Regions from separate parts of the Homo sapiens genome. Here region 1 is linked to region 2. Evidence: promoter capture Hi-C in 16 types of primary human blood cells and fetal thymus (Javierre and others, 2016). All regions are on one chromosome and are shown on one strand. The core of a region is centred on a gene start or on the middle of the fragment in contact, and the rest is flanking DNA. Distances in the headings are between cores, read along the strand shown.

Region 1 (3,540 bases), core at 409-2,908, 330 kb after region 2:
TACAACTCACGAATCCCTTCTACAGTATCTGGACTACAGACATTGGAACAGAGCTGGCCGTATCCTTCCTTGATGGGCTCAGGGTTTTATTTCTTCCCCTGGCCACCCAGTCCCCAAGATCATTTTCTAAGGCTCTGCTGATGCTCCCCATATGTACTCAGCCAGGGCTTTGATTCTCAGGCCAATCATAACAGCACAATTAAGGCTAATAATAAGAAGAATTACTGCTTGCTTTCAAGCCTGGGTGAGAGCAGGCAAAATGAGAAGGTCACAGCCTATCCTCACAGCAGAGGGATCCGAGTTGCTAGGCTTACTGCAGCCTGTCTGAATTATCTGTTATACACTGTTTCCTGCAGACTGAAGCATGACTAGCTTTTCCCTGGAGCCATGGAGGTTCATCTCTGGGCCCCTGTGGAAGAGCCTGTTTCTGAAACCACCTATGTGTGAGACTTCTTAAGTGACCTTGGTGTGCTGGCAAATCACACTGCTGCTATTTATTCCTGAGACCAAGTGGAGATAAGGCTAAGGTGATTAGTTCCAGAGAAGTCGCCAAGGCTTCTGGTTGGTTGGCATAAACTCTAAGTCATCTTCATGAAGCAGAAGTGACAGTCTTAGCTTATCCCTTTTAGGATGCTGGATTTAAATATTTTATCTTCCGGAATAGTATGTGAAATGATCTTGGGAGAAAAAGACTCTGCTCTGGAGTGGAGAGAAAGGCTTGGGTTGTATTCTTCCTTGATGGCTCATATCTTGCCACGTGCTAGGGAATATCCTTTGTCTTGCCATGATGTTTATATTGGTTTCTCAGTGTCACAAGAACATTGTGAGCAAACTAAATCAGTAGTATCATTTCCTCAAAGATGAGAGAGAAGCTCTACCCTTCCTCTGTTATGCCCCCACCAAATGTTAGCTGCACAACAAGAAGAATGTTTCTAATGTTAAATCTAGTTCAACTTTTTTAATTTTGTAGATAGGATGGAGTGAGTAAAATTTCAAGTCCTGCAGAAAATAACTATATTCCCTTCATTCCAGGATGATGTTCATTATAGGAAAGAAGGAGAAACTGCATTAGATATTATATTATTTAATGAAATATGCACGCCAAGTTCATACTTATTAAATGCTTTTAAAAATAGACAATTTGGGCCAGGTGTGGTGGCTTATCCCTGTAATCCCAGCTACTCGGGAGGCTGAGGCAGGAGAATCGCTTGAACCTGGGAGGAGGAGGTTGTGGTGAGCCAAGATTGTGCCATCGCACTTCAGCCCGGGCAACAAAAGCAAAACTCTGTCTCAAAAAAAAAAAGGCAATTTGGGCAAAGTTGTAGCAGAAAGGGGTTGGAATCAGGTCATCTGCCTTCCAAGGCAGCTCACGCTATCCTAAGACTTGGTGGTTCTCAGACTGGCTCTAATTGGCAGGTCAGTCTCCCTAGTGGGTCTCAAGTATACTGGCAGCAACCCAGACTCCCACCTGTGCCATGTGTCCTTGAATCCCCATTCTGTTGGACAAGATTTTCTGTGGTGACAGAAGATTGCAAATAGTCCTTCATCCCTGGTTTCACTTTAAGACTTTCAAGCCCATGCCCAGGTCCCCTGCACTGAGCCCCCACGTATCTCCTCTTCAATTATGCCAGAGTATCTCAATCGCATTCTTATAAAACTCCAAGGACTAGCCCAGTGGTTCCCAAACATAGTCATACTTGATGTCCTAGCCCTGGAATATCTGATTCCATATATCTAGGGAGGGACCTGGGGATCTACATTTGAACCCTTCTGGTGATTTTACTGTGGTTTTTCATCTGATCCATAGTGACGAATATATGGTTTATTAGTGCTTCTCAAATTTATTGTGTATACGGATCTCCTGGGGACCTGGTTAAAAGGTAGATTCTGATTCATTAGGTCTAGGGTAGGGCCTAGATTCTTCATTTCTAACAAGCAAGACACCATTTCTTTTCTTACTTGGTTTAGAAAGCAATATTGAACACCTCCCTCTGTGGTACTAATGTGTCAAGAAACCTATCATTGGCATTAGAATATCAGGTTTTAATATTTTATCCCCTTGAAAATTTTCTACATATTTGGAGACAAAACAAGTATTGCCAACAGACCTGGGGAGAAGGGCCTGGACCCGGCTCAACTTGGCCTTGGCTAGCCCGTTGTTTCCTTTACTGGACACGACCAGATGGCCTTCATCATCGTGGCTGGAATCTGCCTCTGCCTCTACTTCCTGTTTCTATGCTTCATGGTATTTCAGGTGTTTCGGAACATCAGTGGGAAGCAGTCCAGCCTGCCAGCTATGAGCAAAGTCCGGCGGCTACACTATGAGGTGGGCAGATTTCTTGGCTCGTTCTGGAACTGGTGCTTGCTTGATCTTTCCACTTGATGTGTAAACACACACACCCTGGAGATAGAAAGCCTTTACTTTGAAATACAAATTGAGAGATTCTCATGTAGGATCTCTGGGCAAAATTAGAGGCCAAATCTTACTCTGAGAAGCATCTAGCTGGCCTAAATCTTGGTGTTTTCTGTGGTACAAATGTGTTTCCATTTTCAGTAATGAATAAACTTGTTCAGCCGGTTCTTCAGCTTGGTGATGGAATGTAGGTTACATACTAGCTGGGAGATTGGACTATGGCATAATTGGGATTTTGTTGGGATGAGGCTTTAGTCAAAGTTCTGTCCCAGAATCAACCCTGTCCTGTAATTAAACAGGGTTTAGCCCACGTGATCTGATTTCCAGACTCTTAACAGGCCACATTCCCCTAAAATATCCAGCAGATGCTCAGACAGAGTTCAGTAATCTCTGTTTATAGATTATGTTCCTCATTCAAGAGAAACACTTAACATCCTCAAATCCCCAATGCAAGCAACACATCCTTGATTTATCAGGGATCCCCTGGGTTCATGCCTAAGTGGCTGTCCTTGGAGAAACAAGCCTAATTCCTGTATGAAAAGAGAAGCAGAAACTACAGAACCTCAGAGTTTTTATATGCAGTAGATCTGCACAGAAGAGCCCCTGAATAATAGGCCTCCCTCTCTGAAACACAGGTTCTCTTAAATCCTGCTCTTAGGAAACCACAGGCACTTTCTAAGGCTTGCCTGTCTCCAGAGCTGGAGTGACATGAGAAAATTCAACCAAATCCACTTCATGTTGATTAATATGCACATTTCTTTTTGTTCACTGGAGCAGAATTTTATTACAACCACAGAAAACTTGGATTTGGTAACTTTGAACCCTTGCAGAGAAGCATAACCAGCTTAGCAGGGAAATTAGCAGCCTCACGACGTGTTGTGAATATAATTTCCCAGGCTCTCGTATCGCTGCTTTATGAGTGATAAGAACATAGGAAATACTTGGCCCAAGAAATTTTCAGCCACACTCACCTCTGCAGAAGAAATATTACTATGGGAAACTATTTTACTGTCATTCTTAGGGATTTGGTTTTACAGATTTCTTTAAAATTAAGCTTTTTATAGATTTACATAGTGAGAAAAGGATTGGTAGCTGATGGAGTATTAAACTACTCTTTCTTTTCTAAT
Region 2 (3,575 bases), core at 659-3,158:
GTTTCAGAGAATATAGTAATGGAAAAGTAGGTCATCGTGGACAAGAAGTTGGGAAGCACTATTGCCAAACAGCCTTAGGCTCCTTGTGAAAATGAGGATAAGGGCATTTATATGCAGACAATTGATTGGAAATGAACTCTTGAAATAGTATCTTTAATCTCTTTCTTTTTTTTTAAGTCACCACTTCCTCAAAATGCAACTTCAATTTACAAGAGGTTCTTATAGCAAGGAATCCGGAGTTATGCTTTCTTCCACGCGTTATTAAAGATAGTTCTTTAACAATGACAGACCTAATATAAAGAAGAAGAATTATTCTTGAGTAATTATAGCACTATTAAAAAGCTAGGAAGTTTATAGAGGAAGATGTTTTCAGAGACATGACTGGGAAGGTGATAATTTTGGTTTTGCACTTTTAAGATTTGAAGTCATAGGACCTCCAAGAGAAATTGAAATTTGTCCAACAGAATGTTGGAAATATGAGCCAGGTGAAGAAAGATCAGGGGAGAATGCAAATTGATTTGGTCATTTACATAGGGATAGTACTTGAAGCTATGAGAGTAGATGAGCTCTACAAGGCTAAGAGTGTGAAGAAAGAGCAAAAGGCTGAGGTCTGAGCCATGGAAGGAGACAGGAAACCCCGAGTGATGTGTAGGAATAAAACTAAAAATGTATCAATTCTATAAATATTCTGATCATCTACTATGTGTGAAATATTTAAAACAATTCTGATTTCTAAGTATTTTAGAATGAGGGGTGTGTGTGTGTGTGTGTGTGTGTGTGTGTGGTACAGTTAGAGGGTTGCATAGATATAAGTGAAAGTAACGAGAGTAATAAGTGAGAGTAATCAATTTTATCCCAGGATTTGAAGATCCCATAAGATGGAATTGAAAAATGTGTGTTTTAAATTGCTGTCTAAAGACTGACAGAATAAACATTTTTAAAAACTATTTTCCAGCATTTCAAAAGCTAAATGGCATCAGCTTTGCAACCACTTATGAATAGAAGTGTTCTATATGTTACACATTCTCCTGGTTTGTGTTTTTCTGTGGGATTCATTTAATGTAATTAGTTATTGTTCTCTGACAATCTTTAAGCTTAAGCAACATATATATGTGGTATTAATAGAACCTATGGTGTTTACTGATAAAATTGTGACAAAATTGTAGAAAAACCAAAGCCTTTTATAATTCTTGGGAATTACATTAAGGATATACTTTTTTTTTTTTTTTCTGGTTACACAGGATCACGCTCTGTTTCCCAGGCTAGAGTACAGTGGTGTGATCATAGCTCACTGCACCCTGGAATTCCTGGGCTCAAAAAATCCTTCTGCCTCACTCTCCCAAGTAGCTGGAACCACAGTCATGCACCATCATGCCTGGCTAGTTTTTTATTTCTTCATAGGTATAGGGTTTCACTATGTTGCCTAGGCTGGCTTCGAACTCCTTGCCTCAAGTGAGCCTCTCACCTCAGCCTCCCAAAGTGCTTAGATTACAGGCATGAACCACCATGCTCAGCCATGGAAAAACTTTAAAAAGGATTTATGTATAATCAAATTCTTACATTTCTAACTGTATAAATCGTTGTCCTCATTTTTAAACTGAGGGCTGCTTACCACTTTTTCCCAATACTTCACATAATGCTACCTGGAAATTACCGATATTCTAGTTTGTATGCAACCTTAGCTTTTTAAATTCACATCTTTTAATATTTTTCTAGATGATACATACCTTTTCTCGATGTGTGTTATGCTGTGCTGAAGAAGTGGATCTTGATGAGCTTCTTGCTGGAAGATTAGTTTCTTTCTTAATGGATCATCATCAGGAAATTCTTCAAGTACCCTCTTACTTACAGACTGCAGTGGAAAAACATCTTGACTACTTAAAAAAGGGACATGTAAGTATTGTGAGTCTTAAAATTCTCTGCAATAGTCAGTTGCAAGTGGCAAACTCATCTCAAAATAGCTTAATCAAAAAGGGAGACTTTATCAGCTCCCATAAACAACCTCTAAAAGTCAGGAATGTAGACAGAATCTGGGACTCAAATAGCTATATGACTCTTTCCATCCCTCCATCTCTTATTTCTGTGTTGATCCTGTGTTTGACAATGGCTCCTTCACATGATGAGGAATGTGGCTAGTTGAAGTTCATGAGTTAGAGCCTTACATTTGCAATTCAAAGGAAAAAGAGCCATTCCTCCGTCTCCAATTTAAAAGCTCTGGATGTAGACTCTTAGCATAGTTGAGGTTAAATATGCATCGTTTAGGTTGTTAAGAGTGAGTAGGATGGAGATAGGGCCTTACTCTGATTGGTTCTACACAAAGGAGAATTTATTCTTCACAAAAGGTGAAGGTAGAGGGGTAAAATGGGAAGGAACTATTAAAAGAAGGAGAGAAGGAATACTGAGCAGCCAAAATAACAGACATCTACTGTATTCTGTCTTTGGCTGCCCAACACATGTTTATGTTTTTCCCATACATACCATTCTAATATTGCCCTGGCTTATAATTATAACTATCTCCTAGAATTTCTTTCTCTTATCAGAAGATGTTAGAAGCTCTGCCTATGTCCCTAGGCCTCAAAAAAAAAAAAAATACATGAAAACTAAAAATATTTCATTTCAGTAAATATGCTGATCATCTACTACCTGCACTGTCAGAACATTAAAGTCTTAAGATGAATTAGAATAACACTTAGATTGTTATTTTATAGTTAAAAGAATAAAATCCATAGTTAATGGTAATAATTATAATACCTGTCTTTATTTAATGCTTATTGTGGGCTGAGCCCTTTCTATACATTTTCTTATGTAATTTCCATTTTAATGATGAAGAAACAGACCAAGAAAAGTTAAATACATTGTTGAATGCTACAAACCAAGTAGATTATGGAGCTGGGGTTTAGAACCTACTGACTTACATACCTCTACTGCATAATACATAGTTTTTTTAATGGCTGAATGTTTGATTGGTGGTAAATTAATAGGTGCTAGATCCCATCAAAAGAATACTTTATCATATAAGAACATGACCAGAATTAACAGAGTTATATCATTTTGATCACTACAGATTGAAAATCCTGGAGATGGACTATTTGCTCCTTTGCCAACTTACTCATACTGTAAGCAGATTAGTGCTCAGGAGTTTGATGAGCAAAAAGTTTCTACCTCTCAAGCTGCAATTGCAGAACTTTTAGAAAATATTATTAAAAACAGGAGTTTACCTCTAAAGGAGAAAAGAAAAAAACTAAAACAGGTAAGAGAATGAGCAAGTTCTCAATCATGTAAACATTTTCTAATGTGCTGTTCCTGGTTGTTAATAACATTTAGAATCTACTTTCTTATTTTAATATTTTAGATTTTAAGTTTGAGTTATATAGACTATATATTATGATGTCTTGTATATGTGCGTTAACCTAAAACATGTGAGTACCTACCTGATTTTGCTCTTTATCCTGAATTTTAAAATAATACCAACAGTAATAATATATACTCTCCTTTTTCACTGGTATTTTGTATAATTATAGCTTGGATTAGCCTGGGAAAGCAATTTATAAGGTATGGATATGTATCTTTGAGTG

Evidence for each region. The method cuts DNA at HindIII sites, captures the fragments that hold promoters and counts their contacts. A CHiCAGO score of 5 or more calls a contact.
Region 1: a fragment that was not itself captured here is called in contact with the fragment with the promoter of DEPDC1-AS2 in region 2 in 4 of 17 cell types (naive B cells, total B cells, neutrophils and 1 more); the score reaches 6.0 in naive B cells.

Annotation. Positions count from the first base shown.
Region 1 is chr1:68,144,655-68,148,194 of GRCh38, reverse strand. WLS (Wnt ligand secretion mediator) reads left to right here. Exons shown (of 12, transcript NM_024911.7): 8 at 1-59; 9 at 2,183-2,326. The region is part of intron 9 of GNG12-AS1 (GNG12, DIRAS3 and WLS antisense RNA 1); the gene reads right to left. Among named protein-coding and RNA genes, the nearest start is that of MIR1262, 37 kb to the left of the region's middle. RefSeq lists an enhancer at 1-470. The HindIII fragment of the contact is 3,622 bases long and covers 1-3,469 here.
Region 2 is chr1:68,477,462-68,481,036 of GRCh38, reverse strand. DEPDC1-AS2 (DEPDC1 antisense RNA 2) reads right to left here and starts at 1,908. Exons shown (of 2, transcript NR_198991.1): 1 at 1,728-1,908. DEPDC1 (DEP domain containing 1) reads left to right here. Exons shown (of 12, transcript NM_001114120.3): 10 at 1,717-1,893; 11 at 3,065-3,250. The HindIII fragment of the contact is 5,599 bases long and covers 1,097-3,575 here.